2 separate regions of the Homo sapiens genome follow, and region 2 is linked to region 1. The links are contacts of gene promoters, found by promoter capture Hi-C in blood cells and fetal thymus (Javierre and others, 2016). All regions are on one chromosome and are shown on one strand. Each heading gives the region's core, a stretch centred on a gene start or on the middle of the fragment in contact. The rest is flanking DNA. Distances are from core to core; before and after follow the strand shown. Region 1 holds the start of PLN (phospholamban). Region 2 overlaps MCM9 (minichromosome maintenance 9 homologous recombination repair factor).

Region 1 (7,803 bases), core at 4,899-7,398:
GTGTATTATATGCCAAACTCACATTTACATAGTAAAAATAAGACATTAAAATTTGTAACATATATTTTTAATAAACAGCACACAAAAATGCCCAAGCATATTTAAAATTATTCTCCAATGAACAGGTAATGTTTTAGGGTTTTTTAGAGTTTTTAAAAGCTTAACATGCCTGAAGATAAGGACTTTTTTTTTAAGTGCATTCCTTACCTAATAGAGTGCCTGACAACCAGTAAACCAGTAGTTTAAAGAAATGAATTAAGAACTGGCTTCTTGTGAAATTTACATGTTTAACAAAATTAGCTAAAATTAATAGCTACTTTCAAAATAACCACATTTTTCAAGCTAGTTTAGTATAATCAGAACATTTGGGCTTCAAAGAGACTTTAGAAATTAATTCGATCTGCCTTCCATTTATTTACGAGAAAACTACAGTACAGAAAGATTCATTTTCTGAAAATCATAGAGTAAGGTAGAGAGAGGACAAAAAAATGAGAATGACAGTTCCAATTCAACTCCTCATTAATATTCCTTGACCAACCTTCAACCACTCCAAAAATCTCTTATATTATGGTTACACAAAACTATGGAATGCCATTGTTTTGGACTGAGACTTAATAGCCCACGCCAAACCACAATGCAGTCACTCTGGTTTGTTTTGGGCTGAGTCTTAACAGACCAGACCAAACAAGAATGGAGCCACTCCTGCTAGGAGCCACATAACCAAACTGAACTTCAACATCACCAAGTTTTCCCAAAAAAAAAAAAAAAAAAAAAAACAGGATATTCACAGCAACCAATCAGAAAGGGCCCAGTTTACCTGAATTAGCATGATAAAGAAGTCTGTTTTAACCTTATAAGGAAAGTAACTTACAATAACCAATTCACTTTTTGTTCCTTCTTTCTTTAGCCTCTTTCTGCCTAGAAAGCCCACCTCCTCCACTTAGCTCATCTGATGGCCTATTTTTATAGAGACACTGCCCAATTCATGAATCATTAATCAAAGCCAATTAATTAAACTCAATTTGTTGAAATTGTTTTTTGATGTTACACACACGTCAAAGTGTGAACAAGTTAAAGAATTAAGTGCAAGAAAAATCTCAACTTTTCAGAGGCAATCATTAGGGACAAAGAAAATTAGTTTATCTAAGTTTCTGAGGGCCTTTATTCTCTCTTCTTTCAACTTATCCTTTTTAAGAGTTCACTTGTAATAGAAAAATAATATTCTAAATATCCATTAAGTATAAAAATATCTTATTGAGCCTTCTAAGGGATAAACAGTGTGTAGAGCTTAAAAAAATCAATCAGTCTCTATTCATGAAGTTTATGGCAAGGAAAATAAATAGACCTATATAATATAAAAAGTCCCCCACCAACTTCAGATTTATCTGACTTTTCTGAATTATAAGAGATATTCACTTATTACTTGTATAATTAGAAATTAAGAACAAGCAAAACAGGGCTTCTCCCCACCTACTTCTGAATAATGAAGGAGTTCTATAAGAACAAGACAGTAAGGAAAATAATTCGGATAGAAGAAATAACATATAATGGCAGAGTTGTCAAATCGTTATGGTAGGCATACATGGCAATGGACAGATCAGGAACGATGTTTTATGTAATTCTGTAAAGAGTGGGTTTTTCATCTCGAAAGAGAAATCAATAAAAAGTTCTCAGCATGTGAATGACAATCAAATGTGCACTTGGATATCAGAGTAAAAACTGAGTAGGAAAGAGTCACAACGAAGGGTAGAAAAACTAGTTAATAAACGTCTATGAAAGTTAAGAGGAGAGTTGGTCAGGCTATGAGAACAAAGACATATTTCACAATCTGCATTTGGTTTCTAAGTGAATGGGGAGTCTGGCAGAAGACAGAAAAGGTATGAGCCTCCAATTTCAATTTTGTATCAAAATCAGTGATAGTGCCACCACAAAGTTTGCGAATGCGAGGAGCTCAAAGGGCTGAGATATCAACCACAAAGATAAGAAATTTAATATGTCTGGAGAAATACTACAATCATTAAATTGAAATAGAACCTTCTTAACAATGTAACAGCATCATGATCGGGACCCTATAGAATTTTGAAGCAAGTATTTGGAGACCTAAGGGTTGGTTTTTGTTGTTAAATTTGTTTTGTGATGTATGTGTTTCCCTTTGTTATTTTTGGCTTTGGTTCTGTCCGTTTCCTTTGTACAAAACATGCACTTCTCTTAGAAGTCATACTGCTTATTATTACACGTGCTCATTTGACTCTCAATTGGGAATTTCTTTTTCTCCTGGTGTTATCTTGCACTAGTGGTTACCTTCTAAATGTTAAATTTTCATTTCCATATTATTTGTATACTGATAAACCATAATTTCCTTGAAGCCACGTAGCATGCTATAGCATTTCTATCACTTAGAATGTTTAATAACTTTCCAAAATTTATGTAGACCTATATGAGTCCTTTTCTTAATCCATCTGGCCTCTCTTAATGTCAATGCTCTTCTCCACCCCTCATCAAGATGAGGAAAGAGAATTTGCCCAGAATTCAGATATTTATGAAAAAATAAAATGTTTGGGTCTCCAGGTTATCTGGCAAATCAAGTGAAAAGTGAACCTACCTCCCCCAAATGACCCCTAAGCTTTATAGGTTACTTTATCACTGGGTTATATCAACAGCCCCCCAACTCCAGTTGATGAGTAAATCTTATTTTCTTTTCCCTATTGCCCTATGGAGAGAATTTCCATCCTCTCAATCTCAGACCACTAATTCTTATTCGCAGTTTTGCTTAGATGTTTTTTGAACCAGTCCTTCCCTACGTAGCTTTAAAATTTAAGGCAGTAATTATCAAACCCTCAAGTACCCTCAAGAGATAGGTAAAATCTTCTTCCTGGGTGTCTAGGAGATCTAATCTAAAAAAAGCTCCTTATCTTTGATGTATTGTGAACATTACAAAAATTGATTCAAAGCTTGCATTTTACTGTATCTCTGTCTAAATATTAAAATGCTTTAATTTAGTCATCACTTATATTAACTTCTGGTCAAAAATTTCCAAAAACCGATTCTATTTTGAAGCTTCTTCGCCCTCCGGATACACCACTACAGACTGGAGTTTAAATGCTCAATGTAAAAGATTACTACATACATCACAGTGCCCTTCACAAAACGTTAGTAATATAGCTGGGCGCGGTGGCTCACGCCTGTAATCCCAGCACTTTGGGAGGCCGAGGTGGGCAGATCACGAGGTCAGGAGTTTGAGACCAGCCTGGGCAATATGGTGAAACCCCATCTCTACTAAAAATACAAAAGTTAGCTGGGCGTGGTGGCACACGCCTGTAGTCTCAGCTACTTGGGAGGCTGAGGCAGGAGAATCGCTTGAACCCGAGAGGGAGAGGTTGCAGTGAGCTGAGATCGCACCATTCACTCGGGGCTGAGTAACAGAGTGAGACTCCGCACCCCCTTCCAAAAAAAATTAGTAATACTTTTGAGGAACACATTTAAAATGCTACAAAACTATATAAAAACAAAAGTAAAGACATGAACTCATGATTCAGTTGAAACTGAATACTAAATTTCATTTAGAGCTTAGTAAAAATAAATTTGTAATTATTTTCCCATCCAAGTTCAAAGACACTTTACCCTTAAGAATCCACCTTCTAAAGGAAAAAAGAAAATAAGTGCTAACACTAAATGAACACTGTTGCAGGATCTCTGATAATCACTATGTACACTTCATGTCATTAAACCATCACAAATACTATTCCACAGATTAGGCTGCTTAGGAAAGTTATTTGTATAAAGCCATGTGACCAAAAATACATTCAAACTATAGTGTAACTCCAAATGAAGACTGTGACAAAGCACCTCAAAAAAATTTTCTAGCCTCTAGCTGAGGAATCATTGAGGAACACTCTACTGATAACACTATAACTCATTAATACTCCTATTAAACAACTTTCTGTTTGGGCAATTAAAAACAATGTTCAGTTAAAACTAAAATCTAATACTTCCTAGAGTTCCACATGAGATCATCACCATCATCGTCATCTTCACTAGCTAACCCAAAGGAACAAGGTAAACACAAAAACTCCCCACTCTTGTACCAATCTAAAAAGTAAATTTTTGAATCCATTTTCCAACTGTGTCACACACAGTTGTTAGTATCCTTCTAAGGTGTGTATATGCCTATGTATACTTTTTAAGTAAACTTATAAACATGTGGTAACTAGGGCATATTTTATTCTGTCTACGGCAGCTTCTTGGTTTATCCAACTAAGTATTACTAATTCTATTTTCTTAGAATGAGAAGTTCTCAGAACAATGATCTATCACCTAAATTTCAAATGAATGTGTAACTGGTAGACAAACTTAAAGCAGACTTTCTAAAACTATTAACAGTGCTCAAGAATGCATCTATTTACATCTTAAAAATTTCTCAGTTACTATATGCTACTCTAATGAAAGCTATATTCAAATTATAATTTTTTCCCACAGCATGCCAACAGATTAGGAATTATAAACAGACAGATCTGGATTTGAATCCTGTCTATTCTTTAGCAGCTGGTTATCTCTGACAAATTACTGTAAACCTCGTTAGGCTTCTCGGTTTTGTATTATCAATCATCATTGGTAACTGATAGTACTGAGAGATCCTCATTATGTAAGGATTGAAAGAAAAATGGTTGTAGCACTGAGAAAAGTATCAAACATTATTCTGCAATTTCCTTAACTTGGGTTTTACTTTTAAGTTGTAAATTTTCCCTTGGCAATGTTCACAGGATATCTTTGCTAAAATATTATTTTTCAGTTAGTTTTAAGCTGACTCTTTAAATATCAAATGATTTGCTCTAGAGATGGATTTTCTTTCTTTGGAAGAAGCCAAGATCATTTCCATTTAAGGGCATGTAAGCAGCTGCTGCTACACATTTTAGTTACCCATAAGAAAGTGAAGTGGGCTAAGTTCACTCTGTCATAAGCATTTAAAAAATTAAAAATTACAAGTACCTCCTCTAAAATTAAAGAAGAGATTTAAGAATTAATATTTTCGAGTGTGGTGACTTAAGTAAATCTAACATCTAAGACAACAAATTAGATAAACAGAGAAGAGGAGAATGATGCCCGGCTTTACAAAAAAATTATTTCCCCAGTTCTACTGTAAGATAAACTGTTCTAGGAAGTTCAAAATATCATCTCACTTACTAGCATCTCATTTTTATAGTAATTTTCAGGAAAGCAACTGCTAGATTAAATGAGGCACATCCTTTCAAAAACATTACAAAACTTAAATTTCAACACATCAAACCTATAAAGCCTCATTAACTGAGATGTAACTGATTTGGAATCTGTAATTATTTCTTTTTTGCCATAAAGTTGCCCTTAATACTGCATCAGTTTATTAAAAATTTGGTAAGATTGTGTAATAATTTAATGCAATTGTTTTTAAAAAATCTTAAATACTTAAAGTAGCATATTGCTATTTTGGGGGTGTTGTATGTATCAGTTTAAATATAAGTATTACTATTCACAAATATATTGTTAAACTGCTAATTGAAGAAAACACAAATGAATTAAATACATTTATTAGTTCTTTAACTGTAAGATAAAAATAATTTTTTAAAACAAAAAGCAATTAGCCTGATTTTCTCATACTCCTTCTCCCATACACACAAGAACAAGAACAAAATAAGAAAACAGGTATAAAATTTTATTGTGTAAAAATATTTCACTTTCACTAAAAGCTAACATTATGAAGACACGTATTAAAGCAACAGCAGCAAGAATTCAATGAAAGTTGTTTTGCTTATACCTGTGTTTATTTTTCTCATAATTAAAATTCCTGCAGTAACTATTTTAGCTCTTCAACATCTTCACCATTAATATTCAATTATCTCTAAGCCTGAAGATGCATGAATCTTTAACAAAAGCTTTCCACCACCTCAAGTTTACTTATTTTTTTCATTTATCTACCATATACTGTTTTAAATTAAAAACAAAAGATGAAGCACAAAGTGTTAATGACTTTTCCATACCTAAAGTAAGAAGTTCTAAAGTTTGGTTGTGATAAGACTGAGACTGTGGCTAACCAATCGAAACTTCAGAATTCCTATGTGACATCATAAGACCTCCCTAGAACACTTTTTCTCCTCCACCTACTGCAACTGTTCCCATAAACTGGGTGACAGAGTCAGAAAACTCCCCAGCTAAACACCCGTAAGACTTCATACAACACAATACTCTATACTGTGATGATCACAGCTGCCAAGGTAAGAAACAGATTTCGCTGACTTTGGTAATTCTTACTTTCTATAATTCTTAATTCCTATAATTTCTATAATCTGAACTTTTAAAATGAGTTAATTTTATGAATATCAGTTCAATCTTAGGCAATAAAATGACATGACAAAGTGCTTAAATTTATAAATGCTTATCCATTTAGTGACAGGAAAAATGAGACAACTTTGAAATGAAAAAGGTCATATTCATCTTTGATCCTGGTTACTGGTTTGTCATTTAAATTTATCTTTCACTTTTATTTTGCTTTTCAAATGTGAATTTCTGCCAATTAAAAAATCTTCCAATTATGTTACCATATTTGGTAGTAGTGGTTAATTTCTCCATGCAAAAACAATGACTTAATTTTGTTATTTATTGCTCTGCTGAGAAACAGTGCAGAACTGAGCTATTTACATCTGAACTAATATGAATAGTCATTTGACTACAACATGCACATTATCAGCATGCCTATTCCAATATTATCATAATTTCATACAGTGAATAATGAAATGGAGTTTCAGAATATATAATACAAGCTACTTTTAAAGTGCCCTTGAGGATGTTTCCCCTCTAAAGTCCAGTCAACTTTTAACAAACATTTCTAAAAAAATTCCATGCTATTAATAAATTGAGTTACTGATATTAAATTCAATATTGTATCATAAAGAAGTTTAGAAATTTTAAAACAATGTTCACAAACACAAAAAATCTGACGTTAGAGAATAATTTGATACTTTAAAAAGTTATTTTGACACACGAATATTCTTAACTATCTTATTTTCACACAAATTTGATTAAATGGATTTCTGCCTATTAATGCCTATAGTTTTGTCAAGTTATTATCCTCCAGTGGTACTCCATTTCCTCTCTCGGATTTAGAAAGAAAGGAAAAAATAAAATAAATGCCAGGAATGGAGATGCCACAATCAATTTTATGACTTCTGTTTGAATTCTACCCTATTCTTTATGTTACAATCCTCAATTTAGTAAATGAAACGTTTCCTCATTCTTAGATCTCTGTCAGGGCATACAGAAAATTACATATATTTTATTTATTTTGATTTTCATATTTCATATATATGTTAAAATAAAATTTATCTCTAAAATTCTCAATTCCTATGACAAATGTTAATTCTATTGCTCACTACAAATAAGAACTTTGTAACTCTGTAAGCAGCTTTCCTTAAGACATAAAAAAACATAATTTTTGTCTACCACTGAGGTATCCTAATTGTGTCTCCATATCTCTATACTCATATTTTTCCTTTGATAGTACATAAAAGTCATTCAGTGTAGGTGTCTTATGTTATTTGTGCATTTTTATTCAAATATCTATCAAATTACATTCTCACACTTCAAATTGGGTGTTCACGAGTTATTTTATTGTATCAGAATTTTGCTATATCACATATTACTCTAAAAAGTACACATACTTCTGGATAGAGCAGAAATTATATTAAACTTACCCTTAGCTCACTAGTATGTCTCAGTTAACAGAAATTACAGTTACAGAGACTGCTAAAATTTCAAATATAATGTGGTAGTACC
Region 2 (6,740 bases), core at 1,294-3,793, 330 kb after region 1:
TTTAAAAGATCAGTGGTTGCCAGGGGTTGAAGGGAAAGAGGGATGAGGGATGAACAGGCAGATCACAGAGGATTTGGGGGCAGTAAAACTATTTTGTACAATACCATAATGGTGGATATGTGTCATTATACATTTGCCAAAGCCCATGGAATGTACAACACTGAGTGAATCCTAATGTAAATAATAGAATTTGGGTAGCAATGATGTGTCATTGTTGGTTTATCGGTTGTAATGAATGTACCACTCTGAAACTAGCTGACACTAGAGAAGGTTGTATGCATGGCAGGGAGGGAGAATATAGGAACTATAGTTTCTGTTCAGCTTTGTTGTAAACCTAAAACTACTCTAAAAAACAAATTTTATTAATTAATAAGCAAAAACTGTTGTGACCCTGAGTTGGGCAAAGATTTCTTACATATGACATCAAAGGCACAGTACTCAAAGAAAAATTATAAGTTGATCCTCGCTGAAGTTAAAAATGTTTGTTCTTCTACAATGTTAAGAAAATGTGAAAGATAAGCAACAGATTGGGAGAACGTATTTGCAAATCCTTTATCTGATAAAGGACTTGTACACAGAATATATAAAGAATTTGCAAAACTCAGTAAGAAGTAAACAAAACCTCACTGAAAAACTGAGCAAAAAAGTTTGAACAGTCCTTTCATAAAAGAAAATATACACATGGCAAATAAGCACATGAAAATATGTTCAATATATCCCCTCCCCTTGAATCAGGGCAGAGCTTTGTGACTGCCTTGACCCATACAGTATGGTGAAAACAATGCCATGTCATTTTCAAGGCTAGATTGTTAAAATGCTAGACATTTCTGACTTGTTTTCTTGGAATGCTAGATTTTAGAGCCCAGCCACTATGTTGTAAAGAAGCCTAAGCAACCTACAGAGAGGCCTGTGTGGACAGAAAGTGAGGACCAAGGACCCACAGCCCAGGGTGAGCACCCAACCTACAGTCAGCACCAATGTGCCAAGCATATGAGTAGCTATCTTGAAAGTGGATCCTCCAGCCCCCAGTTGAGCTGCCACAGCTGATGCACATGGAACAGAAAAAACCTGCCCAAATTGCAGATCTGTAAACAAAATAAGCTGCTAAGTTTTGAAGTGGTCTCTTACTCAGTACTACATAACCTAGCCAAGACCACTAAGAGAAAGACAGACAACCTAATGGAAAAATGGAGAATGGACTTAAAATAGGTATTTCATGAAAGAGAAAGTCAATAAACACATGAAAAGGTGCTCAACCTCATAAATAATAAGGAAAATTCAAATTAAAACTACAGTGTAATGCCATTACACACCCACAAGTATGGTTAAGTATTTAAAAATCTGACAGTGCAAGTACTGGCAAGGTTGTGAGGCAAAGTCAACTCTCATGTGCTACTAATGGGAATAATAACGGATACAACTATTTTGGAAAAGAGTTTGGCAATATCTACAAAAGTTTCAGTTATACATACTCATGTACTCAGAAACTTCACTGCTAAGTCTGTTCCATACAGAGATTGTGACCATCTGCACCAGGAGGGAGATAGGTAAAAGAGGGCTCATCATAAAATTCTTCATAATAGTTAAACCTGGAAACAACTGAAAAGGCTATCAACAGAACAGATGAATAAATTGTGGTATATTCAGACCGTGGAATAATGCATAACAATTAAAAAACAAAGTACTAGGCCTGGTGTGGTGGCTCTCACCTGTAATCTCAACACTTTAGGAGGCTGAGATGAGGGATCACTTGAGGCCAGGAGTTCAAGACAAGCCTGGGCAACAGAGTGAGAGTTCATCTCTACAAAAATTTAAAAAATTAGCAAGGCATGGTGGTGCATGACTGTAATCCTAGCCATTTGGGAGACTAAGACAAGAAGACTGCTTGAGCCCAGGAGTTCCAGGCTGCAGTGAGCTATGATAACACTACTGCACTCCAGCCTGGGTGACAGAGCGAGACCCTGCCTCAAAACAGAAAAACAAAAACAAGATAAAGTATTGTACAGCTAAACACAATATGGAGAGAATATTAAAAGATAATACTGATCAAAAAATACATAGTCTACAATTTAATTAATGTAAAGTTAAAAAAAAGCAAAAACAAATTAATGCTAATAGACCTATAAGAAATACTACAGGAGTCTTTCAGGCTGAAATGAAAAAACACTAAGATGGTAATTCAACCCTACATGAAGAAATAAAATGCACCAATAAAGATAACTATATAGGTAAAAAATGAAAGACAGCATAACTGTAACTTTGTAACTTTTTTTCTTTTATCTGATTTAAAAGAAAATTGTATAAGCACAAATTATAAAATGTGTTGAGTGGCTTATAACATATGAAGATATAATTTGTATGACAATAATAGCACAAAGAAAAGGGAATAGAATTACATTGTAACAAATTTTTACACACTATGAAAATTGAATTGGCATTAATCTGAACTAAACTGCTTTAAATTAAAAAGTTGGTAATAACCCCCAAGGCAACTATTAATATCTTTAAATATATAAGAAACAAGAAGGGTATTAAAATAATACATTAGAAAATATATATTTAATATATTTAATGCCAAAGAGGCTGGGCACAGTGGCTTACACCTGTAATCCCAGCACTTTGGGAGGCTGAGGTGGGTGGATTGCTTGAGCTCAGACGTTCAAGACCAGCCTGGGCAACATGACAAAACCCCGTCTCTACTAAAAATACAAAAATTAGCTGGGCAGGTGGCACACACCTGTAGTCCTGGCTACTTGGGTGGTTGAGTTAGGAGAATCATTTAAGCCCAAGAGGTGGAGGCTGCAGTGAGCCAAGATCATACCACTGCATTCCAGCCTGGGCAACAGAGGAAGACCCTGTCTCAAAAACAAAACAAAACAGACAAAAAATACAAAAGAAGGCAGAAATGGAGGAATGTAAGAACAAAGAAGACATAAGACATGTAGAAAACAAAGAGGAGCATAGTATACATGAATCCTGCCTTGTGAGTAATTACATTAAATGGAAACAGATGAACTACTTCATGAAAAGGCAAAGGTTGTTAGAATGGAGGGGGAAAAAAAAAAAAAACCCATGATCCAACTATGTGCTGTCTACAAGAGACACACTTTAGACTTAAAGGCACAAATAGGTTAAAAGTGAAAGGATGGAGAAAGATATTTTGTTCAAACAATAACCAAAACAGAATTGAGGAAGCTATACTAATATCAGTCAAAATATCTGAATATGATCTTAAAAATGCATTAACACAAGAATAGCATTCACAAGTGTAGATATCTGTTAGACAACTTCTAGAGGATCTATGCACAAAATGTGGCCTAGCTACCTGTTTTTGGAAATATAATTTTATTGGAATACAGTCATGCTAATTTGTTTACATACTGTCTATGGCTGCTTTCATATTATAATGGCAGAGGTAAGTAGTTGTGATAGACATTATACTGCCATCAGAATAAAAAATACTAGTATGTGGCCTTTTACAGAAAAAGGATGCCAATTCTTGATCTAGTGTTTTAATGTCCATGTTGGGACATCAAATTAAAAAAAAAAAAAACTAATAGAAAGACTAGGCGGGGTGCAGTGGCTAATGCCTGTAATCCCAGCACTTTGGGAGGCTGAGGTAGGTGGATCACTTGAGGTCAGGAGTTTGAGACCAGCCTGGCCAACATGGTGAAACCCTGTCTCTATTAATAATACAAAAATTAACCAGGCGTGGTGGTGGGTCCCTGTAATCCCAGCCACTTGGGAGGCAAGGCAAGGAGAATCACTTGAACCTGGGAGGTGGAGCCGAGCTCATGCACTGCACTCCAGCCTGGGCGACAGAGTGAGAGTGCACAAAACAAACAAACAAACAACAACAAAAAAAAAACACCAAAGAAAAGAAAAAGAAAGAATAAAAAGGGCAATGAAATAATGAAGGACATGCAAATAATACCATTTAAAGAATGGTTTGTAACATTGGGTCTGTTTAGCCTAATTAAAAAAAAAAATACAGGGAATCGAAATTTTTATATCCTCTGAAAACTCTCCTATGGAAGAGGAATTAGATAAATTTGTAGCAGCTTCAAAAGAAATTAACTGAGACTAACATGTAGAAGTTTACAAGGAACTGTTGGAAACTCGAGGTGTTTGAAGAGGAATGAGCTGCCTTACAAAATAGTGAACTTTTCATCAAAGTAAGTCAAAGTAGAATGTCCACTTGTCAGGATAGTATAAAAAGGTATTTATGCAATGAGTAGGTAACTGCCTAAAGGACTAAAGGTTCTAAAAATCCCTTCTAAATCTGTCTCTTAGCAATACAGAAAGGACTTTCAGCCATTTCCTGAAATCTGTGGCAAAGGTAATTAAAAACTAAGACAGCTAAGTATTTCTTCCCACTTTTGTTAATTCCTTGAATGCAAAAGACAGAAGGAAAACAAAGTTGTCTCTTTGTCTCTGTCTTATGAGAGGCAAGAAGAGGGAAATAAATAGTACTTCTAATGATTAAAAGGTGATTATATTTAAGATGTCTTTCCTTTCAAACTTTGGGTTTTTAGTACTGGAATAGGGAAGTTAGTAGAAGGCAGCCAGGGGACAAAGGGATGAGTACCAATTCATTCTCTCTTCTTGTAGAGGATTCCTGTGTTCAACAATTCAGCAAACATTTATTGTTAATATCAAAGCATAGTAGTCTCTCCTTATCCACAGGGGATACGTTCCAAGACCCCCAGTGCATGCCTGAAAGTGTGGCTAGTACTGAACCCTATACACACTATGTTTTTCCTACACATACAAACCTAAGATAAGGTAATTTATAAATTAGGCACAGAGATTAACAAAAAATAATAATAGAACAATTATAACAATATACTGCAATAAAAGTTATGTGAACGTGGTCTTTCTCAAAATATCTTACTGTAATGAACTCATCTATTTTCAGACAGTGATTGACTATGGGAAATTGAAATCATGCAAAGCAAAACCCCGGATGAACTACTGCATGCACTAAAGTAAGCATAATGCACTGAAGTACTATGTCAGCCAAGGATTACGTATAATTTTATAATAATGTTTAATTTATACACCCTAACTTTCCTGAGCCCCACCTTTTTCAATCCTGACTCCCTCCGCATCTAGATAAGAACGTTTCCTTCCTCCTTGAAACTTTCCATTTCCCAACTAGTACCTCCAGTCAATACATATTTATACACACCCTTCCAAAAAACAGCACTCATCTTCCTGTTGACTTGTAGTTTGTTTGTATCCTATGGTAAAATTCAGTGAGCGAGTCAATGTGCGGAATTTATTGTATAAGTATTACATTTTCTCTATGAGGACATGGAACTAGTGACCAAATAAAGCTTCATTAAAAACACCAAGGGAGGAAAAATGGCACCAGAAATTACTAGCAAACCAGGAATAATGACTGCACTTAGAAAAACTGAACAGTGAAAACAGCGTTAAAAACATCACTTCAGAGGTTTCACTTCTGCAATGGCAGTGTGAGGAGCTCCATGGACATCCTCCTCACTGAAGCAAGTATAACTGGTGAAAATTATTTTTTAAAATCCAACCATTTATACAGACTATGGAAAATCTAAGGGCATACAGTAAATGAAGAAACATTTATTCATTGAAATCTAAAACTTCATAAGAATAGTGAGAGTCTAAGACACTTAAATCATGACCTGCTTCCTGCCTCTCCCCTTCTCTTCTTGCTTAGCTGGATGGAGGCTTCACTACAGGTGAATGTGGTCAAGAAGAGGAGCTCCCTATGAGCTCTTAATCAAGGGATAAGATATCGTACCAGGAGGGGTAGAAAGCATTTCTTATCCCCTCCACGTGTGAGGTACAGAAGCTAAATTCCTGGTGACTGTGGCCAAAAGGTCACGATCTTCCTTCCTCCACCCAATCCCAACGCACAGAGTAGAGGATCTACCCTAGGTGTGACAGGCAAAGAATCCTCGGCACCCCAAATGCCTTCAATCCAGCTGACTCATAAGGTAAAGGTTCCACCTGGAAAGACAAAGCCAATAAGGGCAGAGGCTACCATTTCCGCCCCCTGGCTGGAGCAGTAGCTCAGAGAGTTTGACCAGGGGGAGAGAGAGTCCACAAAAACAGGGAAAGGAAAATCTGAATCTTCCCCCACAAGAAACTGACTTTATTTGGAACACAGTGCAGGGAAATTCAAGCCTAATGGAGATTTTGGTAGCAAGTAATAAAAAGGCTGGTAGCTCTATTACAGCTGTATGCTAAACCATAGGCCAGCTAGTTTACCATAGAGAACCAGGGAAACAGCCAACAAGAGCACTTCTGGGGTCAGAACAAACCTCAAGTACTGGATTCAAAAAGTATCCCTGACCAAATTTAATTGAACCAGAGTGCTGAGCAACTTATCCCCAGGGCATTGCCAAAAAGAACAGAGCAATCAACAACTAGAGCCTACCAGCCGAGTATGATACCAAACAGCACAGATAGCTTAACAGAGATCAAGGAGAGAGTCAAGGAAAGGTTGGTTAAAATTATCATCCTAAGAGTGACTGTACACACACGTAAAGGCTGTTGCCTCTGAGGAGTAACATCAGCGACTTCACACTGTGAGGAGACACAGACTTCAAGAAATGAACCTAGCCAAGTTACTAAACAAGCAAACAACAATAAAAAAAAGGATAAAAAACGAGGCCTGGAGGAGAATTAATATAAAGAACTGGTATAATACATTAAATTAAAATATCCGGTTTTTAACAAAGAAGTATAAGATG

Evidence for each region. Contacts are between HindIII fragments. The CHiCAGO score rates a contact against its expected background, and 5 or more counts as called.
Region 2: a fragment that was not itself captured here is called in contact with the fragment with the promoter of PLN in region 1 in 2 of 17 cell types (total CD4 T cells and fetal thymus); the score reaches 5.6 in total CD4 T cells.

What each region holds. Positions count from the first base shown.
Region 1 is chr6:118,542,148-118,549,950 of GRCh38, forward strand. It overlaps PLN (phospholamban), which reads left to right and starts at 6,149. Exons shown (of 2, transcript NM_002667.5): 1 at 6,149-6,245. The region is part of intron 3 of CEP85L (centrosomal protein 85L); the gene reads right to left. The HindIII fragment of the contact is 6,726 bases long and covers 5,905-7,803 here.
Region 2 is chr6:118,876,194-118,882,933 of GRCh38, forward strand. The region is part of intron 8 of MCM9 (minichromosome maintenance 9 homologous recombination repair factor); the gene reads right to left. Among named protein-coding and RNA genes, the nearest start is that of ASF1A, 15 kb to the right of the region's middle. The HindIII fragment of the contact is 5,587 bases long and covers 1-5,337 here.